Linked DNA regions of Homo sapiens: all the other regions are linked to region 4. Evidence: promoter capture Hi-C in human tissues and cell types (Jung and others, 2019). All regions are on one chromosome and are shown on one strand. The core of a region is centred on a gene start or on the middle of the fragment in contact, and the rest is flanking DNA. Distances in the headings are between cores, read along the strand shown. Region 1 holds the start of CALCOCO2 (calcium binding and coiled-coil domain 2). Region 2 holds the start of COPZ2 (coat protein complex I subunit zeta 2). Region 3 overlaps CBX1 (chromobox 1). Region 4 holds the start of SKAP1 (src kinase associated phosphoprotein 1).

The links. The method cuts DNA at HindIII sites, captures the fragments that hold promoters and counts their contacts. A contact is called where the count stands out against the background at its distance.
Region 1: the fragment with the promoter of CALCOCO2 here is called in contact with the fragment with the promoter of SKAP1 in region 4 in 1 of the 25 tissues and cell types used here (adrenal gland).
Region 2: the fragment with the promoter of COPZ2 here is called in contact with the fragment with the promoter of SKAP1 in region 4 in 1 of the 25 tissues and cell types used here (small bowel).
Region 3: a contact is called between a fragment that was not itself captured here and the fragment with the promoter of SKAP1 in region 4, in 1 of the 25 tissues and cell types used here (thymus).

Annotation. Positions count from the first base shown.
Region 1 is chr17:48,829,297-48,836,289 of GRCh38, reverse strand. It overlaps CALCOCO2 (calcium binding and coiled-coil domain 2), which reads right to left and starts at 5,255. Exons shown (of 13, transcript NM_005831.5): 1 at 5,212-5,255. RefSeq lists a silencer at 4,840-4,999 and an enhancer at 4,370-5,251. The HindIII fragment of the contact is 23,399 bases long and covers 1-6,993 here.
Region 2 is chr17:48,034,626-48,041,338 of GRCh38, reverse strand. COPZ2 (coat protein complex I subunit zeta 2) reads left to right here and starts at 3,542. Exons shown (of 9, transcript NM_016429.4): 1 at 3,542-3,672; 2 at 4,414-4,488. The coding sequence starts at 3,562. MIR152 (microRNA 152) reads left to right here and starts at 4,092; the gene lies at 4,092-4,178. RefSeq lists an enhancer at 2,376-2,425. The HindIII fragment of the contact is 11,602 bases long and covers 1-6,713 here.
Region 3 is chr17:48,083,627-48,090,504 of GRCh38, reverse strand. The region is part of intron 1 of CBX1 (chromobox 1); the gene reads left to right. It also overlaps the pseudogene RNU6-1201P. Among named protein-coding and RNA genes, the nearest start is that of CBX1, 14 kb to the left of the region's middle. The HindIII fragment of the contact is 8,049 bases long and covers 1-6,878 here.
Region 4 is chr17:48,428,938-48,435,920 of GRCh38, reverse strand. SKAP1 (src kinase associated phosphoprotein 1) reads left to right here and starts at 5,707. Exons shown (of 13, transcript NM_003726.4): 1 at 5,707-5,846. The coding sequence starts at 5,801. RefSeq lists a silencer at 5,534-5,793. The HindIII fragment of the contact is 11,559 bases long and covers 1-6,983 here.

The DNA of each region.
Region 1 (6,993 bases), core at 4,006-6,505, 400 kb before region 4:
TGGTATGGCTGGTTCAGCTGGCATGGCTGGTTCAAGTGGCATGGTGCCAAAAAACCAAAAGGAACAGATTTGATTTCCTTAAGAACCCATCAAATTCACACTCCATTACCTACCTTACACACACTCAAACTCTGGCAAGCTGTTGTGAAAATGGATGCTACTCTGAAAGGCAAGACCAGCTAAGGGCATGGGGTAGCTTGGTATAGTTTCTCTTTCATTACCAGAAAAACAACCAATCTGGCCGTGTGCCGTGGCTCACACCTGTAATCCCAGAACTTTGGGAGGCTGAGGTGGGTGGATCACTTGAGGTAAGGAGTTCGAGGCCAGCCTAGCCAACATGGTGAAACCCTGTCTCTACTAAAAATACAAAAAATTAGCCGGGCGTGGTGGTAGGCGCCTGTAATCCAAGCTACTCAGGAGGCTGAGGCAAGAGAATCGCTTGAACCCAGGAGGCGGAGGTTGCAGTGAGCCGAGATTATGCCATTGCACTCCAGCCTGGGCAACAAGAGCAAAAAACTCTGTCTCAAAAAAAAAGAAAAGAAAAGAAAAGAAAAGAAAAGAAAAGAAAAACAACCAATCTAAGTTAGCTCATAAGCAGAACGCTTAAGAAAGGACAGCACATATATAGACAACACGAAAGAGCTCATGTTCTGAGGCTTGAGTGTATAGTCAAAGGAAATTCTAGCTATTTTCATTCACCTGAAAACCTAATAATCTGTCTGGAAAAGTGAACAGCTTTGGTTCCTTGCTTATCAAAAATGCAAAAGACCCCATGGAGTTTCCCATTTCAGAAATCTCATCACCTTCCCAGAAGGGACTCAGAGGGCATCCAATGGCATGTGAGGTATTGAGAACTCAATCATTCTTGAAATAAGGTTAAAATTCTCCTCTGCCAAGGCTGGGGAAGGGTTTGAGGAGGCAAGTAGATGAGAACAGCAGTGGCTTCTCTTCTCTCCTTTTTACCAAGCTGTGGACACAAAGGGCCATGAGTAAACTAGAACATAACCATGCCAACCCGAACTTGGTCAGTGAGGAAGTATTCCAGCTTTTCCTGGAGGGAGGGCATCTACTGAGTTTTCAGGTCAGTAATCTTTAGTCTTCCCTTCCTCCCAGTGATAAAATTCCTGGGAGAAATGGGCTCCAACAATGGCTTGGGAAATTACCTTTCTGACAAAGTAGTCTAGAAATGAGTATTTGTGGACAGGGGAGGGAAGATATGTAAAGAGAATTATTTTTTTTGCGGGGGGGCAGGGTCTCACTCTGTCACCCAGGCTGGAGTACAGTGGCACAGCCATGGCTCACTGCAGCCTCAACCTCCCAGGCTCAAGTGACCCTCCACCTCAACCTCCCAAGTAGCTGGAACTATAGGTATGCGCCACCATGCCCACCTAATGTTTGTATTTTTGTAGGGATAGGGTCTCCCTATGTTGCCCAGGCTGGTCTTGAATTCCTGGACTCAAGCAATCCTCCCGCATTGGCCTCCCAAAGTGCTGGGATTACAGGCGTGAGTCACTACACCTGGCCCATGAAAATTAAAATGACTTAAGCATCAACTTCCCCTCCTTTAACCACCTTTCCCACTATAGAACCTGTCTACCATCCATTTCTAACTTGGCAGCAATTCATAGAGGTAAAGAAAAGAGAAGAAATATAAGAGCAAAAGTTAAATTTAGAAGCCCAGAGAACTGCTGAGTTATGAAAAATTAGTGGGACGAGCTAGGTCCCCTAGAAATTATAAAGTGGTATTTTACCTAATTCCTTATTCCAACCCTCAAATCAAAGATTGGCCACATAAGGAATGAACAGAGAAAACAAATAGGGATTTTCAAAAACAAAACTATCAAGCATGGGTAAAATAATGCACAAATTCCACAAACTGTCAGAGGCAACTTTATTTGGCCTCTGACATAGTCATTACCTTTTTTCAGCTCAGTTTCCAAAAGGATTAGGGCCCTCAGAGGAGCAGGCAATAATGGGAAAGTATTTTTAAATGAGTCCCCTGAACTGTCTCCTAGCTTCCAAGAAAACCTGACACATCTTCATCTAATGAGCTTTTCAAGCCTAATATACTACTCCCAGGGCTGTTCCATGAGGACATAGATCCTCTTATGTCTTCCTGAAGAAAAGGAACAGCAGCCTGTTCTACTTCTGCTCTTGCTTTTTTTTTTTTTTTTTTTTTTTTTGACATAGGGTCTTGCAGGCTGGAGTGCAATGGCATGAATGTGGCTCACTGCAGCCTTGACATCCCTGGCTCAAGCAATCCTCTCACCTCAGTTGGAGTAGCTGGGACCCTAGGCATGTGCCTGGCTAATTTTTGTATTTTTGTAGAGACAGGGTTTCACCATGTTGCCCAGGCTGGTCTTGAACTCCTGGACTCAGGCGATCCATCTGCCTCGGCCTCCCAAAGTGCTGGGATTACATGCATGAGCTACCGTGCCCAGCCTACTTCTGCTCTTTCTAACTGCATCTGCAAACTACACTGATAGGTTTTTTAGCAGAAAATTTTTTAAATGGCCAACATGTTTACATTAGCCTTTTTTATACCAGTGGGCATATATTTCAAGAGAAATGAAGACTACAGATTAGTTCACAGAAGGAAATCAAATGCTTCTACAGGCAAGAAAGACATGCAAATCAATTCTTCATTTGAGAACAGTAAAAACAAAGATAAAAGTCAAACCCAATTTAATTGGATTCCTTTATCTTTCTGCTTACTTTTTTTCTTTCTTTTTTTTTTTTTTTTGAGACAGAGTCTCTCTCTGTTGCCCAGGGTGGAGTGCAGTGGTGTGATCTCAGCTCACCACAACCTCTGTCTCCTGGGTTCAAGTGATTCTCCTGCCTCAGCCTCCCAAGACTACATGCATGTGCCACCATGTCCGGTTAATTTTTGTATTTTTAGTAGAGACGGGGTTTCACTATGTTGGCCAAGTTGGTCTCTAACTCCTGACCTCGTGATCCACCCACCTTGGCCTCCCAAAGTGCTGGGATTACAGGCGTGAGCCACTGTGCCCGGCCTTCTGCTTACTTTTCTTTCTAAACGATTAGCAATTAGCAAAAATGGATGAATTGATTTGAATCCCGTTTCTCCCTGGCTATGGCAGAAATGCTTACACATAACCAGCCTTAAAGAATACCAGCAGTGGATACTATGGGTGTGTGTAGATGGCCCTGAAACAGGTAGCAAAAGCAAAGACACAATCACTGGTCTTCAAATTATCGAGCCATTTGCTCTAGCCCAAAATTTCCAAGTTAATTCTAGACCCTTACCTAAAATATGAAAATGTTTCAGAGTGTCTTACAAAAATTTTACACCCCAGGAGGCCTTTATTACTACTCATTAACAATTGTTTGAATTTGCTGTCCAGCTTTTTCTAAACAGGCCCTCATCTCACATCCACACCACCATAGTGCTGGCGCCAGTTCTAGGGGAAGATGGAAAAAATAGTTCTGGGACATCAGGTGCGGGCAACTGGAAACTCTGAAAGGCTCAAAGCTGTGTACTAATCTCCATTTTACTGAGACCATCCACTTTTCCCTTGACAGGGGTGATTCTAACATGCCATGTCCCTGTGACATGGGCAGTGACAGTGTTTGAAGTGTGGTGGAAAGGGGACTAGGCTAACAGCCAAGGGAGCTGGGTTCCTATCTTAGTTCTGCCACTCTGAGAGCTTGGCCAAGTCACAGTACCCTTTTCTGGCCTGTTTCCTCATCAGCAAAATGCATGGCTAAGGCTAGAAAATCTTCAAGGACCTTGCCTGATATAATGATGATCCTAAGTGAAGGAAAAAAGAAGTGAAAGAGTTCATTTAACTCTCTTTTCATCTAAAAATAATTAAGGATACATGACATTCTATCAATACATACTGCCAAATTAAATTTTTGTTTGTTTGTTTTTTGAGACGGAGTCTCACTCTGTTGCCCAGGCTGGAGTGCAGTGGCGCCATCTCGGCTCACCGCACCCTCCGCTGTCTGGGTCCAAGCGATTCTCCTGCCTCAGCCTCCCAAGTAGCTGGGATTACAGGCGCCCGCCACCACGCTCCACTAATTTTTGTATTTTTAGTAAAGACAGCGTTTTGCTATGTTTGCCAAGCTGGTCTTGAACTCCTGACCTCAGGTGATTCTGCCCGCCTGGGCCTCCCAAAGTGCTGAGATTACAGGCGTGAGCCACCGCGCCTAGTCAGCCAAATTAAATTTTTAAAGAGCCACAGATGTACTATCTGACTCGAAAGACAATATGACCTGTTAGTGCCAGGTAACTCAGGATTATCGACTACCTTTTTCAAGGCCCTTTCCATTCCACAGCTGTCATGTCTGCCAAAGGATAGAGTTTCCAGGTCCCTTGAAAATACCTGGGAAACTGAGCCATCTGGATATTCCTTAATCATGTATTCTCCACAAGCTACAAAGACCTACCACATAAAGTCCTTTACTTGCAATGGTGTTTCCAATAATAGAATAAGTTATATTATCCATATTTTACTCAGCTCCAACCATGGTCACTTGTTGGCTTGCATGTGAAGCAAGAATCCAAGTGATAGAAAAGAGTTAACACGTCCAGTGGGGTTGAAATAATATACGAGTGGGAACATTAGCTCCCAAACTAAGCTGGGTCAGTGGTGGAGGGGCAATGGATTAACTGTAGAGGCAGGTCACGACACCGTCTTTCCTCCTGCCTAGAACGTCTTCTCCGACAGCTGCAGCATGCAAAAGGCAAGGCGCTTCAGGGATCAAACCTACTCGTAAAGGGGGACACTGAGGCCCAAAAAGAAAGTAACTTGCTCAGGGTGACGCAACAAGGCTCCACCTCCGCCTCGAAGCCAACGGCGATGACATCCAGGCGAGGGATTACGGAACCACCACAGCCTGGGCCCGCGGGAGGGGACGGGACGCCACGACCCGTGGGGCGGCAGCCGCCGCCTCAAGACCCTCGCCGCCGCCAGGGGTGTCACTTCTTCCCGAGGAGCCTCCCACCCTGCCACACAGCACTGCAGCGCTGCCCTCCGCAAGACAAAACTGCCCCGCAACCCTCCCGGGCCGCGGGAGGGGCTCCAGGGCCTTCAGAACACCACTCCCACTATCACCCCAGAGGGTGAACTGCGGTGAGAACCGAAACTTGCCACACCTCTACCCCCGTGGCCCCTTCTCAGGACTGCAAGTCTGAATGTGGGCACCCCGAGGGCCTAACTGCCCCTTTCCACTTGAGGCACTCACCAGGGACAGCAACCAGCAGCGGCGCGACAGCAACAGGGCAGAGTGGGACGGGGGCGGGGCTAAGCACCCAAGGGAGAGCCCGTCCCGCCTGCCCCGCCCACACGTCACAACGGTCAGCAAGCCCCGCCCCCGCGCGGCGCTTGCTGGGACTTGTAGTGTTCAGGTGACCGGGCCCCAGGAGCGGTCTTCTGCCTTTGATGGCTCTCCTAAGTCCTGAGCAGCAATCTCACCGAAATAAACCTACTTCATCCCCTGGAAGAAGCTGTTTACTTTTCTTTTTTTTCTTTTATACCTTTATTTCTTTTTTCTTTTTCTGTCGTCCAGGCTAGAGTGCCATGGTGCGAACACGGCTTACTGCAGCCCCGACCTCCCGGGCTCAGGTGATCCTCCCACTTCAGCCTCCTGAGTAGCTGGGACAACCACGGTGCCCATACGGCGCCCGCCACCACGCCAGGCTAATTTTTGTATTTTTAGTAGAGATGGGGTTTTGCCATGTTGCCTAGGCTGGTCTTGAACTCCTGGGCTCAAGAGGTCCAGCTGCCTCGGCCTCCCAAAGTGTTGGGATTACAGACCTGAGTCATCGCGCCTGGGCTACATCTTTATGTCTTTCTTCCCTGAATGAGAAAGCTTTATACATTTGAAGGGCCATTAAGAGGTCATCTTCATTTTTCTCCTGGGTCCACTTAACACTACTTCACGAAGAGTCTTTATTTTTTTTGAGACAAGGTCTCACTCTGTTGCCCAGGCTGGTGTGCAGCGGGGCGATCTCGGCTCAGTGCAACCTCTGCCTCCTGAGTTCAAGCTATTCTCGTGCCTCAGCCTCCCCAGTAGCTGGGATTACAGGCACCCGCCACCATGCCCGGCTCATTTTTTTGTATTTTTAGTAGAGACGGGGTTTCACCATGTTGGCCAGGCTGGCCTTGAACTCCGTCTCAAAAAGAAAAAAGAGAATAAACTCATGGCCAGGCACAGTAGCTCACGCCTGTAATCCCAACATTTTGGGTGGCCGAGGTGGGAGATCTCTTGAGCCCAGAAATTTCAGATCATCCTGGACAAGATAGGGAGACCCTGTCTCCACAAAAAATAAAAAAATTAGCCGGGTGTGGCGGTGGGCCCCTGTAGTCCCAGCTACTCAGGAGGCTGAGGTGGTAGGATCACTTGAGCCTGGGAGGTGGAGGCTGCCATAAGCCATGATCACACCACTGCACTCCAGTCTGGGAGACAGAGCGAGACCCTGTCTCAAAAAAAAAAAAAAAAAAAAAAAAAAAGAATAAACTCAGTAAGAAAAGAATTCTGCTAAGTCAATTTAAAGAAAATCCCCCATCCTTAATATCTAATAACCCTGGCCTGCCTTCAACAAGAGTCCTGTTAAGTTGGTTTAACAAGAATCTCCTTTTAGTAATTTTCCATGCAGTGACCCCTCACTCTGCTTGTTGGCTATAAATCCCACTTGTCATTATTGTATTCAGAGTGCAGCATAATCTCCCCTTTGGTCCTGAATAAATTCTTCCTTGCCATTTTAACAAGTTTCAGAATATTTTTTTCTTTAACATCCAGAAGATGTTAAATGCTGTATATGCTGTCTATGAAAGATTAAATTTGGAAGTGCCCCTTCTTCCACTGTTTAAATGTGGAAAGAAATTTTTCTGTGCCATCTCAGGCAGGGGAATGAGCATTCCTTTTTTTTTTTTTTTTTTTGTCGAGACAGAGTCTTGCCCTGTCGCCTAGGCTGGAGTGCAGTGGCATGATCTGGGCTCACTGCAACCTCCACCTCCCGGGTTC
Region 2 (6,713 bases), core at 2,293-4,792, 390 kb after region 4:
TATTATATCTTGCACAGAAACGCACGCATGTACATACACAAACACTTGATTGTAAGTTCCATGAGAGCAAAATTTTTCTTTTGTCTACTATTGTGTCCCAGTGGCTAGAAAAATATCTGGTACATACTAAGCACTCAATAAATATTTGTACAGCACATAAAATATGTTGTCTTTTTTTTTTTTTTTTTTTTGGAGATAGAGTCTTGCTCTGTTGCTGAGGCTGCAGTGGTGTGATCTTGGCTCACTACAGCCTCTGCCTCCTGGGTGCAAATGATTCTCCTGCCTTCACCTCCCAAGTAGCTGGGACTACAGGCACTCGCCACCATGCCTGGCTGATTTTTGTGTGTTTTTAGTAGAATCAGGGTTTCACCATGTTGGCCAGGCTGGTCTCGAACTCCTGGTCTCAAGTGATCTGCCCGCCTTGGCCTCTCAAAGTGCTGGGATTACAGGTATGAGCCACCACACCCAGCCAATATGGTATCATTGATAGGTACATTTTAATTATTATTAGTTAAAATTTGGTATTTGTGAATATTTATACATGATCTCCCTCATCCTGAATTCCTTTATTCATTTACTTCACAAATGCTTATTAAATATCTGTCATCGGCCAGGTGCAGTGGCTCATGCCTGTAATCCCAGCACTTTGGGAGGCCGAGGCAAGCAGATCACAAGGTCAAGAGATCGAGACCATCCTGGCCAACATGGTGAAACCCTGTCTCTACTAAAAATACAAAAATTAGCTGGGCGTGGTGGTGTGCACCTGTAGTCCCAACTACTCGGGAGGCTGAGGCAGGAGAATCACTGGAACCCGTGAGGCGGAGGTTGCAGTGAGCCGAGATCTCGCCACTGCACTCCAGCCTGGTGACGGAGCAAGACTCCGTCTCAAAAAAAAAAAAAAAAAATCTGTCACCAAGCCTTGTAAGAAACACTAGGGATTCCACAGTGAACAAGACAAACATAATTGGCCAGGTGAGGTGGGTCACACCTGTAATCTCAGGGCTTTGGGAGGCCGAGGCAGGAGGAGGGCTTGATCCCAGGAGTTCAAGACCTGCCTGGACAACACAGCAAGACCCTGCCTTTAAAAAAAATAATAATAAATAACCAGGCATGGTGGCACGTGTGTATCGTCCCACCTACTCAGGAGACTGAGACAGGAGAATGGCTTGATCCTGGGAGTTGTTTGTGTGTGTGTGTGTGTGTGGGTGGGTGGGTGGGTAGCAGGTTCTCGCTCTCTTGGCCAGGCTGGAGTGCTGTAGTGCGGTCTCGGGTCACTGCAACCTCCACCTCCCAGGTTCAAGTGATTCTCCTGCCTCAGCCTCCCGAGTAGCTGGGATTACAGGCACCTGCCACCACCCCCGGCTAATTTTTTTGTATTTTTAGTAGAGATGGGGTTTCACCATGTTGGCCAGGCTGGTCTCAAACTCCTGACCTCGTGATCCGCCTGTCTCGGCCTTCCAAAGAGCTGGAATTACAGGCGTGAGCCACCGTGCCCGGCCGACACTGGGAATTTGAGGCTGCGGTGAACTATGATCACACCACTGTACTCCAGCCTGGGTGATAGAGCAAGACCCTGTCTCAAAACAAAAAAACAAACAAACAAAAAGTCACATTCATTGGTTCTTGCAGGGCTCAAAGTCTGGGCGGGGAGAAGGAACACTTATAAACAAACTAGTAAAGGCTGGGAATGGTGGTTCACGCCTGTATCCCAACACTTTGGGAGGCTGAGGTGGGAGGATCACTTGAGCCTAGGCGTTCAAGACCAGCCTGGGCAACATAGTGAGACCTTGATCATGATCACCCTCCTCCCCCTCCTCCTCCTCTTCCTTTCTTTTTCTCTTCTTCTTCTTCTTCTTTTTTTTTTTTTTGAAACAGATTCTCACTCCCATTGCCCAGGCTGGAGCACAGTGGCATGATCATGGCTCTGCAGCCTTGAACCCCCAGACTCGGGTGATTCTCCCACCTCAGCCTTCTGAGTAGCTGGGACTACAGGTCACACCACCCTACCTGGCTAATTTCTTTGTAGTTTTAGTAGAGACTAGATCTTACCATGTTGCCCAGGCTGGTCTGGAACTCCTGGGCTCAAGCCTTCTGCCCACCTCAGCCTCCCAAAGTGCTGGGATTACAGATGTGAGCCATTGAGCCCAGACTTGAGACCTTGTTTCTACAAAAATAAAAAAAATAAAAAAATAAAAAATTACCTGGGAGTGGTTGCATGCACCAGTGGTCCCAGCTACTCGGGAGACTGAGATGGGAGGATTGCCTGAGCCCAGGAGGTTGAGGCTGCAGTGAGCCCAGATCGAGTCACTGCACTCCAGCCTGGGCAACAGAGTGAGACCGTGTCTCAAACAAGCAATATTAGTAAAAATAATATTTAGAGATTGAAAAAAGTGCAATGAAAGAAAGAAATAGGAACTGAGAGAATGTGACAGGAGAGACCTATCAAGTCAGATATGGTGGCTGTCAGGAGGACCTTTTGGTAATTATATTTCAGCAGAGGCTTGAAGATAAGAAGACTTGATGCATTCAGTGAGGAAAACCCCATTCTGTAACCATCTAGGGTAAGTGACTGTGGTCCACAACATAAGAGGGCTTGAAGAGAAGAATAGGGAAGAAATTTTGAGTCAAAAATCTGGGTTCTATCCCCAGTCAACTAGCTGTATAGTCTTGAAAAGGTCACACAACCTCTGAGTCTCTCTTTGCTTAAAATGAGGGTCCATTATGCCTATCTTACAGGTGTGGGCTATATTAGATAATGGATGTGAAGGTGTCAAATGTAAAATACACGCACAGTGTTTTTACCGGTAAATGCATACGTAGCACTAACATATCACTGGGATGTGAATTTCCCACTTGCCAGTGTACCCTGAAATGAGAGCTTGTCTTAGTTAGACTTAGACCAAAGAAACCAAAACATGCTGCAAAGCCCGATGTCATTGGTGGAGCATTTGTGCTGCTGGGCGTCTGTCTTGCTTCTGATGGTGCCATATCTGTGACTTAGGAGAGCCTGGGGAGGTGTCTCCGGGCCCATGGTTGCCTTCTGCAAGTAGTGAGAGAGGAATGAGAAAGCCTCTTCACAGAGGGGTGTCCCCAGAACTGTCCTCATTTGCTCTTGCTTATAGACCCTGTCCCTGAGATCTAAAGGGTGACCTGACGTATTTGTCCTCATGGTACCTACCAGAGGTCAACAGACAAAAGTGGGCTTTGCTTGTGTTTGCTGCTGGCCCCAGGACAGCCTATAGACACTGGCGCACACCAAAGCCACAGGCCGGAGAGCAGGCAGGAAGCAGGACGAGGGCTGGTCTTGGGGCACCCTGAGGATGCAGAGTTCGGGGATGTAAGGGACTCGGGAAGGAGCCAAGGAGGAGAGAGGGAGAGGAGAAGTGGGGGAAGGAGAGGTGGGGTGAGGGCGGGAGGGGAGATGGGGGAGAACGAGCAAGAGGACGGGGCCCCGAGGAAAGGGAGGCCACGCGCGAGAGGGGGCCGCGGGGCGGCGCGGAGGCGGGGCGGCGGCGGCGGGCAGGCGGCGGGCGGCGCTGTCAGTGCGAGGCGGCGAGCGGAATGCAGCGGCCCGAGGCCTGGCCACGTCCGCACCCGGGGGAGGGGGCCGCGGCGGCCCAGGCCGGGGGCCCGGCGCCGCCTGCTCGAGCCGGGGAGCCCTCGGGGCTGCGGGTACGGAGCGGGCGGGCGCGGGGATCCCGGGCGGCGGGAGCTGGGCAGGGACAGAGCAGGGTTAGGGGGAGCAGCCAACTCAGAACTCGCGCGCCCGGCGGCTGGGAACTTTGTGTCACCCCTGACTGGCCCCAGGACCCGGGAGGAAAAGTTCGTCCCAGCGCCGACCGGAGAGGAGGCCTGTCCTGAGTCCGTCGGCGCGGGGCTGAAGTTCTGGGTCCGTTTGGAGTGGGGGTGGCGGGTGAGTTGCGATTCCGCGGGGAGGGTAAGGAGTGGCCTGTCCGTCCCAGACTCGGCTCCCATCACCGGTGGGTGATGGGCATGCTTCTGGAGTCTACCCGGGCCAGGGCCTGGGGGCGCGCTGATAGCGCAGGTCCAGCCCGGCCAGGGATCAGCTGGAAGAAGGAGGCTCGGCCCGCTGTCCCCCCCGGCCCAGGTTCTGTGATACACTCCGACTCGGGCTCTGGAGCAGTCAGTGCATGACAGAACTTGGGCCCGGAAGGACCTTCTGCACCCAACGGGCACAGCGCCCACTCGGGGCCTGCAGTGGAACATCTGCCTGGGAGTGGAGTGGGCACCTGGGTTGGCCCATGTGGCACAGGGCTGGGCAGAACCAGCTGTGGACCTTGAGGACTGGGGTTGCTGGGGCCTGAGGATGTATCCTAGGGCCAGCAGATCCCATAGACACAGGGTGTCCACCTCGAGTCAGGGGCCAAACGGAACTCTCCTCTCCGGTGTCAGTTGCAGGAACCTTCCCTCTACACCATCAAGGCTGTTTTCATCCTAGATAATGACGGGCGCCGGCTGCTGGCCAAGGTAACCTCTGACCCCACCCATGAGGGACACAGTTCCCACTCAGCTGACACTCCTGTCTCAGGAGAAACTCCACTGTGATCTCTGTGACTCAGGGCAGCTCAGCTTAGACCCCTCCAGAGGTCCTTCTCATCCTCCTGCCTTGTCAAGGTGCTGCTCCCTGAAATGAGGGGTCTCCTCTATTTCTACTCATGTTCCCTGAAATGTTTCCTTATCATCCTGCTACTGGCCAGTTGGACCTGGGCATGGGAAGGTTCTGCCTAATGGGTCAGTGGAGTGTTGAGCCTGGGACCCAGGAGTCTTAGTCCCCAAACCCCCACACAAGTTCTTTTGTTCTTTGGGGTTTGTCTCTAAACCTCCACTTTTGTTCTACAGCTTGGTAAACACTAACGATTTAGTCTAAGGAGTCTAAGGATTTAGAACCAGATGGGATTTTAGAAACTGTATAATCCAACTCTTTAATTTCGTAGATGAAGAAAATGAGGGGTAGAGAAGCTAAGTGAGTTGCCTGAGGTCACAAGTATTAATATCCTAACAGATCCAAACTCAAATTTTATTTATTTACTTATTTAATTTTTTCACTTCTCCCATTTCACAGGTTTCACAGGCAAACTCGGGTTTTTTGACATGAAGCTCAAGGTGGTTTTCACTGTACCCCCATTCAATTAGCTGTTATCTATCCTAGCAAACATGGCCTGAGCGAACCAAACTAAAATAATCCAAAAATAAATTTCTGCTGTCAACACAATTAATTGTAGGGGAGCTATAGCATCTGCATTAGCTATGAAATGCATTATAAGGCCAGGTGTGATGGCTCATGCCTGTAATCCCAGCACTTTGGGAGGCCAAGGCGGGCAGATCACTTGAGGTCAGGAGTTCGAAACCAGCCTGGACAACATGGTGAAACCCTGTCTCTACTAAAAATACAAAGAATTAGCCAGGCATGGTGGTGGGCGCCTGTAATCCCAGCTACTCGAGAGGCTGAGGCAGGAGAATTGCTTGAACCTGGGAGGCAGAGGTTGCAGTGAGCCGAGATCACACCATTGCACTCCAGCCTGGGCAACAAGAGCGAAACTCTGTCTCAAAAAAAAAAAAAAAAAGAAAAGAAAAAGAAAAGAAATGTGTTGTAAGGCCAGGCGCAGTGGCTGATGCCTGTAATCCCAGTACTTTGGGAGGCCGAGGCGGGTGGACTGCTTGAGCCCAGGAGTGCCAGACCAGCCTGGGCAACATGGCACACCCCATCTCTACAAAAAACAAAACAAAACAAAAACAAAAAACAAAAAAACGAAAATTAGCCGGGCGTGGTGGTGTGTGCCTGTAGTCCCACCTACTCGGGAGGCTGAAGTGGGAGGATTGCCTGAGCCCGAGAGGTTGAGGCTGCAGTGAGCCATGATCGAGCTACTGCACTCCAATCTGGGTTATAGAGTGAGACCCCATCCCAAAAAATAGATTTTCTGTTTGTTTATTTGGAACTGAAAGTTTTTTGTTTTTATGAAATTCAAATAAGCAGCGGCCACTAGGGAGATGGCTAATCTGCCTGCGGATTGAGTATTAAGTGGCAAAATCCACATCCAGAAAATTGAAAACTGAGCTGACCACACCTTGCCCCAGCAGATGGTCAGAGGTGGATCAGCAAGGCCAAAGGCTTTTCCTCCCTACAGATTAAGAAACTGAGTCAGAGAGAGAGGCTCACCATTCCCAAACAAAAAACATTAATTTAGTTATGGGATATGTGTGAGGAATTGTTTCTTAGATATTTAATCTTCACTATAACCCTGTCTGCAGTCAGACCGTCCTTAGTGGTCAAACCCAGCTTTGGCCTCACAACTGTGAGATGTTGGGGAAGTTACCTGACTTCTTTTTTTTTTGAGACGGAGTCTCCCTCTGCTGCCCACGCTGAAGTTCAGTGGCGCGATCTCAGCTCACTGCAACCTCCGCCTCCCGGGTTCAAGCGATTCTCCTGCCTCACCCTCCCAAGTAGCTGGGATTACAGGCACCCGCCACCATGCCCAGCTAATTTATTTTGTATAATTAGTAGAGATGGGGTTTCACCATGTTGGCAAAGCTGGTCTGGAACGCCTGACCTCAGGTGATCCACCCGCCTCGGCCTCCCAAAGTGCTGAGATTACAGGCATGAGCCACCATGCCAGGCCATTACCTGACTTCTTGATGCCTCGGTTTCCCCATCCGTGTAATGGGGATAATAAAGTAGCTGTTGTTATTATCAT
Region 3 (6,878 bases), core at 2,321-4,820, 340 kb after region 4:
GTATGAATTGGAAGATATTTAAGATATAAAATTACCAGGATTTAGTGAGAGACTGGATATGGAGGATGAGGAATCAGAGCTGATTCCCATATTTTTGTCTTGAGTACAGCAAAAGCTATATGAATTCTGAGACTGTTTATTTAATTGGGTGATTGGCTAGAAAAAAATATATACATGTAAATAAAAACTGAGGTTGAAATCACAATCTTCAAAGTTTCTTAAGGAACTTTACTGTGTGGATTACCAAAACTGATTTTTGTACTTACATAGGTCATCAGAAATCTTAAAATTTTTGTCACAAATAGCCGGGCGCAGTGACTCGTGCCTGTAATCCCAGCACTTTGGGAGGCTGAGGTGGGCAGATCATGAGGTCGAGATCGAGACCACCCTGGCCAACATGATGAAACTCCATCTCTACTAAAAATACAAAAATTAGCCAGGGGTGGTGGTGCACGCCCTGGAAGGCTGAGGCAGGAGAATTGCTTGAACCCAGGAGGCGGAGGTTGCAGTGAGCCGAGATCATGCCACTGCACTCCAGCCTGGGTGACAGAGCCAGACTCCATCTCAAAAAAAAAAAGTCACAAATAAATTTCGTTAAAATTTTCTGTTTGTATCCAGAATTTACTTCCTTTCTTTACTCCTTGGAAGGTAAATTCCTTTTGCCATTTATTTATTTATTTAGAGACAGAGTTTCACTCTTGTTGCCCAGGCTAGAGTGCAGTGACACGATCTCGGCCCACTACAACCTCCACCTCCCGGGTTCAAGTGATTCTCCTGCCTCAGCCTCCCGAGTAGCTGGGATTACAGATATGTGCCACCACGCCCAGCTAATTTTGTATTTTTAGTAGGGATGGGCTCTCACCATGTAGGTCAAGCTGGTATCAAACTCTTGACCTCAGGTGATCCGCCCACCTCGGCCTCCCAAAGTGCTGGGGTTACAGGCGTGAGCCACCGTGCTGGGCCCCGAGAACTGATTTATGTCTGCAGTAATGTGTGTAATTTCACTTGAGGAATATGGTTTTTGCCAATCCTCTTACAGCAGTAGCTTTTATCCAAGAATGTTCATCAAAATCACCTGTGGAGCTTTGAAAGATGCAGATGCCTGGCCAGGCGCGGTGGCTCATGCCTGTAATTCCAGCACTGTTGGAGGCCGAGATGGGCGGATCACGAGGTCAGGAGATAGAGACCATCCTGGCTAACACAGTGAAACCCTCTCTCTACTAAAAATACAAAAAAATTAGCCGGGCGTGGTGGCAGGCACATGTAGTCCCAGCTACTGGGGAGGCTGAGGCAGGAGAATGGCGTGAACCTGGGAGGTGGAGCTTTCAGTGAGCCGAGATCACACCACTGCACTCCAGCCTGGGCGACTGAGTGAGACTCTGTCTCAAAAAAAAAAAAAAAAGATGCAGATGCCAGCTTTTAAAATTGAGCTATGAATTAATTACTCTTGATTCAGATTTATGCTGTTCCTGGATTCCTTGGGATACTATAAACAAGTTTTGGGGTTTTTTGTTTTGTTTTGTGTTTTATTGAGACAGTCTTGCTGTGTCGCCCAGGCTGGAGTGCAGTGGTGTGATTTTGGCTCGCTGCCAATGTCAAAACAGCATTCTTCATTATAATAAAGGAAACCATACAATGGAATACTATGGCAGCTGTTAGGGATGGAGATCTTTATGGAATAATGTCAAAGATACATTGCATTGTATAAAATGGTAAACTGGTGCTTGCTTAAGCAGCACATGTACTAAAATTGGAACGATACAGAGAAGATTAGCATGGCCCCTATGCAAAGACGACACACAAATTCATGAAGCAGTCCATATTTTTAAGTATTTTTTTAAAAAAATCAAAAGTAAGAAATTTTTATTTATTTATTTATTTATTTTGAGATGGAGTCTCGCTTTGTCGCCCAGGCTGGAGTGCAGTGGCGTGATCTTGGCTCACTGCAACATCCGCCTCCCGGGTTCAAGCGATTTTCCTGCCTCAGCCTCCTGAATAGCTGGGATTACAGGCATGCGCCACCACGCCCGGCTAATTTTTGTATTTTTAGTAGAGATGGGGTTTCACCATGTTGGTCAGGCTGGTCTCGAACTCCTGACCTCGTGATCCACCCACCTCGACCTCCCAAAGTGCTGGGATTATAGGCGTGAGCCACCGCACCTGGCAACAAGAAAAATAAATTTTTTTTTTTTTTCAGACGGAGGCTCACACTGTCTCCCAGGCTGGAGTGCAGTGGCGCGATCTTGGCACACTGTAACCTCCACCTCCCAGGTTGTAGCAATTCTTCTGCCTCTGCCTCCCAAGTAGCTAGGATTACAGGCGCCTGCCACCACGCCCAGGTAATTTTTTGTATTTTTAGTAGAGATGGGGGTTTCACTATGTTGGCCAGGCTGGTCTCAAACTCCTGACCTTGTGATCCGCCCGCCTTGGCCTTCCAAAGTTCTGGGATTACAGGCGTGAGCCACTGCGCCTGGCCACGTTATATATTTTTGTAATTGAATGTTAATATATGATTTTAATTAGAAAAAATTAACTGCTTTAAAAACACCACTTCCTCATGTATTCGCTGTGGAGTGGGGTCTAGGCATCTGTATTTCTTCTTTTTTCTGTTTTCTTTTTTTTTTTTTTTTTTGAGACTGAGTCTCGCTCTGTTGCCAGGCTCTGGAGTGCAGTGGTACAATCTCAGCTCACTGCAACCTCTGATTCCCCGGTTCAAGTGATTCTCCTGCCTCAGCCTCCCAAGTAGCTAGGACTACATGCGTGTGCCACTATGCCCGGCCAATTTTTGTGTTTTTACTAGAGACAGGGTTTTGCCATGTTGGCCAGGAAGGTCTCGATCTCATGACCTAGTGATCTGCCTGCCTTGACCTCCCAAAGTGTTGGGGTTACAGGCATGAGCCACTGCGCCCAGCCTTTTTTTAAATTTTTTTTGAGATGGAGTCTCACTCTGTTGCCCAGGCTGGAGTGCAATGGCATGATCTTGGCTTACTGCAACCTCCGCCTCCCGGGTTCAAGCTATTCTCCTGCCTCAGCCTCCTGAGTAGCTGGGATTACAGGTGCACACCACCACGCCCAGCTAATTTTTGTATTTTTAGTAGAGACTGGGGTTTCACCATGTTGGCCAGGCCGATCTCAACTCCTGACCTCGTGATCCACCCACCTCGCCTCCCAAAGTGGTGGGATTACAGGCGTGAGCTATCACACCCAGGCAGGCATCTGTATTTCTAAACTCCATAGGTGATTCTGATTCTCATAGAGGTGAAGGTTCTTGACTCAGAGTTCGCTTTCCTCTGAATTCTTTTCTTTTTTTTTTTTTGAGATGGCGTCTTACTCTGTTGCCCAGGCTAGAGTGCAATGGTGCGATCTGGGCTCACTGCAACCTCTGCTTCCCAGGTTCAACTGATTCTCCTGCCTCAGCCTCCTGAGTAGCTGGGACTACAGGCACCCGCCACCACGCCCAGCTAATTTTTTGTATTTTTAGTAGAGATGGGGTTTCACCATGTTAGCCAGGATGGTCTTGATCTCCTGACCTTGTGATCTGCCCACCTCTGCCTCCCAAAGTGCTGGAATTACAGGCGTGAGCCACCGCGCCCGGCCATTTTTGTTTATTTATTGTTTTTTTCTTTTTCGTTTTCTTTTTTTTGAGACGAAGTCTCACTCTATAGCCCAGGCTGGAGTGCAGTGGTGTGATCTAGGCTCAAGGCAGCCTCCGCCTTCTGGGTTGAAGTCAAGTGATTCTCCTGCCTCAGGCTCCCAAGTAGCTGTGATTACAGATGTGCACGACCACGCCCAGCTAATTTTTGTATTTTTTAGTAGAGACAGGGTTTCACCATGTTGGCCAGGCTGGTCTCAAACTCCTGATCTCAGGTAATTTGCCTGCCTCAGCCTCCCAAAGTGCTGGGATTACAGGTGTGAGCCATCATGCCCAGCCCTGACCAACATTTTAAATGCCTCACCTTGGCATTTAGCTAGAAACCCTACTGGTTTAGTTTCTTAGGTCTGTAGGTGTTACCATGGCCTCACATTTATAATTTGGTTTTTCAAACTGGCAAGAAATCAGAATCGTGGAAGTTCCTAGCATAGCACTTCATAGTTCATGTTTATGGTGGCAGCCAAGAGCTGTGGCCATACTGGCTTCTTGAAGCCTTCTCGTACCCTTTCACAGTACAAACTATTTCAAACCAAAATGAAATGCCTAAGCTTGTGTCTGTTATGTTACTGCCTTCTGCAGTCAAGTAGCATTGTTGCTTCTTTACATTTTCTAGCTCCTCAGTGCAGGGGTGGAGGGTGGGTGAGGAAAATCACAACAGTACTCTTTCTCTTAAAATTGAGCTATGAATTAATTACTCTTGATTCAGATTTACACTGTTCCTGGATTCCTTGGGACACTGTAAACAAGTTTTGGGTTTTTTTTGTTTTGTTTTGTTTTTTATTGAGACAGAGTCTCGCTGTGTCACCCAGGCTGGAGTGCAGTGGCGTGATTTTGGCTCACTGCCAATGTCTGCCGCCTGAGTTCAAGCAATTCTCATGCCTTAATCTCTCGAGTAACTGGGACTACAGGTGCATGCCACCGTGACCAGCCTATTTTTTTTGTATTTTTAGTAGAGACGAGGTTTCGCCACGTTGGCCAGGTTTTTCTTGAACTCCTGACCTTAGGTGATTCTGCCCTCCTCAGCCTCCCAGAGTGCTGGGATTATAGGCGTGAGCCACCGCGCCTGGCCTGGTTTCTTAAAATTGACATTTTCTCAGTAGTTCTCTCTCTAGTCTGCTTGCTAGATGTTTAACTTAAAAAATTCTACACTATGTAGCACTTGTCAATTTAAAAGACTCAAAAGACTGCTGGGGCATTAAAAACCCAGCTTTGTTTCTGTCTGCAGGTTTAATAAACAATGAATACCTTCATATTCCAGAAACCAATTAAAAATCATTGTTTTTTTTTTTTTAACAGAGCCATACCTTTCAAGGTCTTTTCTGAGAAAAATCATTACCAGTCACTTTCTTATTTACCAGTGACAAATTGTAGGGAGGAGTCATCTTAAGAGACCTCTGTGTCCTTTCCTTATACAGGCTGGAGGGATGTTACCCTGTAGGTTTTTGGCTAGCTGCTAGTTTTATGTGTTCAACAGGGCATTTAGCCTAGCCTTGCTAGATGGCCTTACTGAAGTGCAGTGCTTCGTTTAATTGTGTGACCTTAGGTGATCTATTTCATCTAAATTTGGTCTATTTGTGAGGCAGAGATAACATCTGAATGGCTTATCTCACAGGATGGTTTTGAAGATTAAATGAGATAATGTGGTAGCACTTTGTAAACTGTAAAGTATAATGCAAATGTAAAGTATTATTTTTCTAGGAATCTTCAAATGTAGCAGACTCAGCAAATGTTTAGGTAAAAATTATGGCAATGCTAGATTTCTTTGTTTACAATATTGTGATATAAACCATACGAGTTGGCTAAGTAGGACAACTGAGGATCTCAAACTGAGGTTTGAGTACATACTGTAAAACCATACTCCCCTATTTGTAGTCCAGTCAACTCAGTTACTAGCTTCAACTAGTAACTCTTGAGAGTATTGGTTTTTTTTTGTTTTTTTTTGTGAGACGGAGTCTCGCTCTGTCGCCCAGGCTGGAGTGCAGTGGCGCGATCTCGGCTCACTGCAAGCTCCGTCTCCTGGGTTCACACCATTCTCCTGCCTCAGCCTCCCAAGTAGCTGGGACTACAGGTGCCCGCCATCACGCCCAGCTAATTTTTTGTACATTTAGTAGAGACGGGGTTTCACCATGTTAGCCAGGATGGTCTCGATCTCCTGACCTCATGATCCACCCACCTCAGCCTCCCAAAGTGCTGGGATTACAGGCGTGAGCCACCATGCCCGGCCGGGAGTATTGTAAATAATAAATGAGTAGGCAGGGCGCCATGGTTCATGCCTGTAATCCCAACACTTGGGGAGGCCAAAGCGAGAGAATTGTGTGAGGCCAGGAGTTTAACAGAAGCTTGGCGCCCGGCACAGTGGCTCACGCCTGTTATCCCAGCACTTTGGGAGGCTGAGGCGGGTGGATCACGAGGTCAGGAGTTGGAGACCAGGCTGAGCAACATGGCGACCTGTCTCTACTAAAAATACAAAAATTAGCTGGGTGTGGTGGCACGCACCTGTAATCCCAGCTACTCAGGAGGCTGAGGCAGGAGAATCGCTTGAACTCTGGAGGCGGAGGTTCAGTGAGCATGATGATTAGCACCACTGCACTCCAGCCTGGGTAACAGAGCAAGACTCCGTCTCAAAAAAAAAAAAAAAAAAAAAAAAAAAGGAAAGAAAGAGAAGCCTGAACAACATAGGAACACCTTGTCTCCACCAGAAAAAATTGAAAAAATTAGCCAGGTTTGGTGGTACAAGCCTGTAGTCCCAGCTACTTGGGAGGATGGCTTGAGCCCAGGAGGTCGAGGCTGCAGTGAGTTATGATCAGGCCACCGTACTGGGCAACAGAGCGACACCCTGTGTCTAAACAAAATTTTTTAAATAAATGAGTAAAGTGTTTGTAATAGTACCTGGCACATAATAAGCACTCACTATTATTAGATACTTCAGTGAAACTTTGCAGATAAACATGGCTGGTTGAACTACATGGTTCTACTCCTTTTGAAAATCTCACACAAGTAATGGTCAAAGGATTTTTTTTTTGGAGGGGGGATGGAGTTTCGCTTTTGTCGCCCAGGCTGGAGTGCAATGGCGCAATCTCGGCTCACTGTAACCTCTGCCTCCCAGGTTCCAGCGATTCTCCTGCCTCAGCCTTCCAAGTAGCTGGGATTACAGGCGCCCACCACCACACCCAGCTAATTTTTTGGATTTTTAGCAGAGACAGGGTATCACCATGTTGGTCAGGCT
Region 4 (6,983 bases), core at 4,458-6,957:
CTGACTCTAGTGTTTCTGTCTGTATTTGAGAATGCTGGTGGTTCTTGTTAGAATATCCACTCATCTTAGTGTCAGTATCCTCCAAAGCACATGAGCACATGTGCAGTGCAGGCGAGAGCTTTCTACCAGCTTCTAAATAACTGCCCCTTCTCTCACCTTGAATCCCCCTGCTCCAACTCTGAATTCTAAGACCTGTAGTAAAGTGAGGAAGAAGAAAGGATAAAAAGTAAGGAAGGGGTTTGGGAACTTAAATTTTTTTACCTTTGAAATAACAGATGAAAAGAAACCAAAGAAACCCAGGTCGACTTTAGAAAATTGCTGTCCTTCTACCTTCAATCTCCTTAATCCCCCAGAAGAAAAGACTATTTCTTCCAGCTAGTTTCCAAAGTTATGTCTGAAAATATATAGTCTATAGTCTATAAAATTAGTCTTAGCCTCATCTGCTCTCATGCAGATTAGCTACACAGACTGTTTCCACATCTCACTCAGAGTGCACAGCTCATCTGGCTACAGCTGATACATTCTGAGTCCCCCCATCTCCACTTCAGATCCCCAAGAGAACCAATCAAAAACAGAGAATGTCAGAGTCAGCAACCTCTTTGGTCTTCAGGTCCTCTGCTGGGCTCAGCAGTGCCCAACGGGGATATCTAATGTGGTCTAAAGGATAGGTAAAGAAGATTAAAAAAAAAAAAGGATTGGGAACAATAGAGAAAAAATAATAAGAGGAGTGATAGATAAGATAAAGAAGAAAGAAAGAAATGTTACTATTTATTTATTTATTTCAGACAGGGTCTCAGCTTTGTTGCCGAGGCTGGAGTGCAGTGGCACGGCAACCTCGAACTCCTGGGCTCAAACAATCCTCCTGCCTAAGCCTCAAGAGTAGCTGGGACTACAGGCTTATGCCACCATGCCCAGCTAATTTTTGAAATTTTTGAATTTTTTGTAGAGACAGGGGTCTCACTATGTTGCCGAGGCTGGTCTCCAACTCCCTGCCTCAAGTGATCCCCCTGCCTCAAGTGATCCCCCTGCCTCGGCCTCCCAAAGTGCTGGGAATGAAACATTACTATTTAGATGGAGGAGGGCCAACAGTGATGACTTCGTAGAGTGGCTCAGTGATCCCTAGGCTGTAACTATCTATCTTAGGTATTTTTCAGTTCTACAAGAGCTTTGTACCTGATTCTAATGCACAGCTCCTGGTAAGCTGGGGGACCCTGGGTATAGTGCTGGGTCTGTTCCTTATCTTGAATTTGCTCCCTTTGAAGATTCTTTTGAGTTTTTATATAGTCCCTCATACTGTTCCAAGCCTGTACCTCACTGAGAACCTGCTTATGGAATTGTTTCCTGATGTGATATGAGAAGCTGCTTATTTTGTTGTATGTATTAAGGCAGAGAATCTAGGAGTGTGAGCTGGAAGGGGAGACCATTGGAAGTGTATTTGTGTGAGTGTGTGTATAACAGGACCCTCCTAAGTTGAAGAGTTAGCTAATTGGTAAGAACAAGGCTTCTGGCAAGCCGTGGAAACTTCATTTTTAGGCCACTGAAGTAACGTGCCCAAGTTAGCATCTTATGTCCATCTCCTCTGCCTTCAAGGTGGCATGATGCTTGGTTTCTGGAGCCTTGCAAAACATACAGTGAGCCTGGTTCTTGGCACCGACAGGATGCATCATCTCTCCTTCCACATCTCTTAATGAAGTGTGCAGCTCTTGGCCTCATTAGGCCCCAGCATTGTCAATAAAAGAGTCAATAAACCCGGTTGATGGGGTTGGGACCGAGAGGCTGAGAGGCAGTGGCTGCACATCCATAGGGCAGACGTCAGCTCCGCCACATGTCATGACCCAGCATTCAGGGATCAATAACCAGCTCAGAATAAAGCCTCAGAGCCTGCCCTCTGCAGTTTCCTCTCCAGACCCATTTCAGCCAGGGCAGAGCGGTGCCAGCCAGCTCCTGCTTTGCTTGCAGTTGTGTTCCCACTGCATGCCATTCTGGGTGCCAGATGCTTTTGTTTCTTCCTGATTGGTCCCTCTGGACATCCCATAGATGCCTATTTAGCGAGTGCCCACCTGGCATGAGAACATGTAGACAGCATTCCCAAGAAGCTCAGAGGCCAATATGGGCCCTATTTTCTGTGTCTTCTGTCTGCTGACAGTGCGTGAAGGGTCCCGGTGGACAAGGCGGTGTGTTTTCTGCATGTTGTGCTGCTGGACTCCATTCCTGGCTGTTCTACATCTCTTTAGATCCCCTTATCTTATCTAATTACAAGGAATTCCAGATTAATTTCATGGCCTCTGCTCCAAAGGACCTCTTATCTGTGAGGGCCTTGTATTTTAACCTTGTCATTCTTTTGTTGTTTGTCTTTAAGGGGCAGGCAGCTAAGAAGAGGATGCTAAGATCTTGCTGGAATTGGGTCTGGGGGGGACGGGAAGAAAAGGGAGGCAGACAGACCTGAGATTTGTGTATTCTGTTCTGTCCTCCTGCCTGTGTGCAGAGACAGCTGGCTGCTTTCTTCCATGACAGCCACATAGTACCCAGCCACACAGAACAGGACCCAGGCAGGGACTCAGCTACTGCCAACCTCTCCAGATTGCTTTGATATTTCTGACAGAACAGTAAAGGACTCGTGACTATCACGTTTTGCCTTGCCTCTCTTCACCTCCTCTAAGACTCCTCCATGTGGTTTCCATGGCTACCCCCAATCAGATTTGGCTTCCTGCGAAATTGGATTTCAAAAAAGGACAAGGCTTCAAAGGAATTTGTCCATTTAACAGAATGTCATTAGGAGTGGGGCTGACTGCTGAAACAGGGTCCTCAGATGATTAAGGAAGGGCTGCGTTCATGTGTGGAGGCAGATTTCTGTCTGCAATGAGGAACCTTGATGCAACATGACAATACCGTATTGGAATCTGCCAGTCACTCACTACATACTACCCGACTGTGCACCTCCCTCTACCCCTGTCTCTCTAAAACCCAGAGATTCTTGTAAGGAAGGATGCATATAGAATACGTACACTGTGAGTTTTTGGTGTAAGTAAGCTATGACAGGCAGTGAAGCCTGCAAAGAAGTGCAATTACCTGGGTTTACTGCTCTTTATCAAACAATTCATTAGCTGGTAGCTTATATTAGTATGTGACACCATATCCTTGAAGAAGAGGGGGAGGTTATCAAATTTTCTTCTGTTGCCAAGAAGGAAAGCAAGGCAAAGTTTAGGTTGACATATGGGGAGACTTTGCTGCCCTTGCTGTATTTTTTGTGTAACAGTTTAGATTTACCAAAAAAAAATTGAGATGATAGCACAGACAGTTCCCATGTATCTTTCCTTGCTTTTTAGTATGCCTCATAAGTACTTCAAAATGATTCTAGAGCAGCTACAATTTTATAGGTGAAGTGGTGAAGTTGGTAAAAATGCCATGGGGGTACCTGGTACTTGATCCCAAGCCTGAAAGGGGTAGTCTGCCCATTGCTATACTTTCTTTCTTTCTTTCTTTCTTTTTTTTGAGATGGAGTCTTGCCCTGTCACCCAGGCTAGAGTGCAATGGCCTGATCTCGGCTCACTGCAACCTCCGCCCCCCGGGTTCATGTGATTCTCCTGCCTCAGCCACCCGAGTAGCTGGGATTACAGGCGTGCACCACCATGCCCAGCTAATTTTTGTATTATTAGTAGAGACGGGGTTTCACTATATTGGTCAGGCTGACCTCAAACTCCTGACCTCGTGATCCGCCTGCCTTGGCCTCCCAAAGTGCTGGGATTATAGGCGTGAGCCACTGTGCCCAGCCACCCATTACTATACTTTCTCAGGGCAGGAAGGAGGATGAGCAGGAGCCAGATACCCCAGAGAGGCTCATGCCAGCCTCTGTCCCCTCACCCCAATTTACTGCAGCTTGTAGGTGGGTCATGTGACACTGAAACCAATGCACCACTGCTTTTCAGATGGCAGGATGCACTGTACTCCTTAAAGGATCACACCCTCATCTTTGAGGCTGTATCTCTGGATGGGAAACAGTACAAGGAGGCAGGCACTTTTATCACACTCATCCTTCTCGATGGTTTCTTCTTACTGCTCTTGCCCCGTCTGCTAGATTGAGTCCATCATTATTCCCCTTATGGCTGTTGTAAAAACCATTTTACCCACTTCCCCCTGTGTCTTTTCCCACCACTCCTAATCTTTTCTACATATTCTGTAGGTTGAGTCTGAGAATAGAAATGCCATTTTTTACAAAGAAGGAAAAAGGCAGAGGTGGAGATGTGTGAGGCCACATACCACCCCGGAGCTCTGGTTAGGTCATTCCCAATCTCAAAAATTGTCAATGGCTCCCCAGTGCCCTCTCAATTAAGTTCAACATTCCTATTCTGACTTTCAAGTCCCTTCACAGTAGAGCTGCAGTTTATCTTGACAACCATAGTCTTTCTACAACATCCAGTAAAAGAGGGCTACTAACTATTCCTCAAGCTGGTGAGGGCTCTTCCATCTTTCTTTACTCTGGTCCTTCCACCTGGAAAGTCCTCTGCCCCTTCAAAGTCTGGTGTGTTTTTCAGAGCCCATCTCAAACACCACATGCACCTTTAAACACTCACATGCACACTGGCACTTCTTTTTATTTTCTTTCTTTTTTAAGAGACAGGGTCTTGCTCTGTTGCCCAGGCTGGGGTACACTGGGGTGATCATAGTTGGCTGTAACCTCAGATTCCTGGGCTCAAGTGATCCTCCTGCTTCAGCCTCCCAAAGTGCTGTGATTACAGGTGTGAGCCACAATGCCTGGCCTCTTCCCTCCTTTTCTGGTATTCAGCTCCCTTCTTTTATCAACCATAGCACTTTATACTTTTTTCATGGCAGTTGACCTATTGTACTTAAAAAACCTCTTTATTTTGAGAATTATAGATTCACAGAGAGTTTCAGAAATAATAGAGGAACTCTGTCTACCTTTACCCAGTTTCCCCCAAGGGTAACATCTGGCACTATTACAGTACCATGTCACAACCAGGACACTGACACCAACTGTCCCTTGAATGAGACCGTGTGATTTTGTCCTTCACTTTCCTCCCTTCCGCAGCTCCTGGAGGGAAAGGGCTCTGTTCTCCTCTCCCTCAGCTTTCTCCCTGTGTTACCCCTTCCTTTCCTCAGGGCCTTTCCATCCTGAGGGAGAACAGCACAGTTTGGTTTCCTGTGTCCCTTGCTGCCACGCTGCCGCGATTCTCCCAAATGTTGGTGTCCTTATATTGCTTATTGGGAATTAATCATTTCCTTTCAACATTGTGGCTTCCCAAAGAGCGAAGTTTTGCCCTCTTTTCTGGGGATGGAGATGTGAACTGGACCGGCAATTGAGGGGTGCTATGCTTGACGGGGATCTCTTCCTTGGATTCTGCCTCCCTGCACCCTACTTCAGGCACCCCGTGGTCTTTCAAATCTGCCACCGTGAGGTCAACTGTTCGGTGCTTAGGATGGAGTGTCCAAAGCCGTGGGTCCTTTGAGCCTTGTGAAGTCTTTTGTTTTGGTGGGTGCTGGAGGGGCGCACCTTTGGCCTCGCACGGTGCGGTGCTTCCGGCACCCCCAATCCTTCTACCGTGGGGCTCCGGCGTGAGCGCCACGTGCACCCACGCCCCGCGCCCCGTTCCGGTCCCCGCCTGCCGCCCGCGCCACTTCCTGACGCGCCCGGGGACCCACGGCCCCGCCCCGCGGCCGGGCTGGGCGGGCGGCGACCGCGGCTGAGGTACAGGTGCCTCGCGGTGCAGCCGGGTCGCCTTCCAGCCCGTCCGCCTCCCGACCAGGGCCCGCGCCCCGTCCCGCCTCTCTCCCGCCCAGCCAAATGCAGGCCGCCGCCCTCCCTGAGGAGATCCGTTGGCTCCTGGAAGGTAACGCCCTGGCGCAGGCCCCCTCCAGTGCTGAGCCGAAGGCCGAAAGGGGACACCAGGCCTCCCACGGCCAGGCTTTCTTTACGGCTTCGTCACTCACCTCCTTCTAGAACCTTAAGGCTTCTAGAGCCCTCAACTCCCTAGAGCCAGCTTTCCATCCTCTCACCTCAGGGCCCCTTTCACTCCCTGGAGTCCCACATCTTCTTTTGCCTTGAGGCACCTCCACGCCTCCACTTCACCTCCCCGGCTTCTAAAGTCCTCAGGCCAGGTTCTTGGTCCCCCATGCCACCTTGCCTGGTCTCCGACCTGTCCCTTTCTCCAAAGGACTGCCCTACATCTGTAGGGTTTCCCGTCCCCCTCCTTCCCCAGCCACGACTTCCTCACCTCTCACAGAAGACCCCAAACCTTCCTGCTTAGAGGTCCCCGAGGCTCTCCAGGGGGCTGCGAGGGGCTCATGGGATCCCCATGGGCCAAGGCCAGGTGGTTGACGTGAGTTTTTGTCAGTGCGAAAACCCCAGCCCTCCCTTTATCACCCTGCAGACGTCTAGGGGTCTCACCCACCCCAAGGCAGGCTCATTCTCAGTATGGGATTTCCTCCTTTTCTAGAAGTGCCCCCATTGTGGTGTGTTCACCTTCCAACTCCCATTGTGGTGTGTTCACCTTCCAACTACAGTGTCTAAGCGGTGGTTTAAAGAGTTCCGGCCATCCCCGTCAACACTCAACACACACTGCCAACACTCCAAAGAGATGTCACAAAGAGACGTTGCTAACGGGCAGTTTCATCTGCTGGGTTTCGTGGTGGAAGTCACTTTTACTTGCTTTCCTGTAACTAACCTTCCAGGGAGGACAGAGGCCTGGAATCTGCAGTCGCATAAGGCTCCCAGGAGGAAACTATTCAGAATTAAGCCTTTTGGCATCTAAGTTGACATAGTTGACACATATTTAACAGACGGCCTGCTTTGGGCAGGTCATATTTTTGGCAAGCAGTATTTTTTTTCAGTTTCTCTCAATTTAATTGGTTTTATATCTCCATTACCTTGTTATCTCGGTATAAATGCCTCCTAATCAAATATTTGGCAAGTCCTTTTGGTCTCTGTCTGTAGCACTATTTCCATTCTGGATTGCTTCTATGTAAAA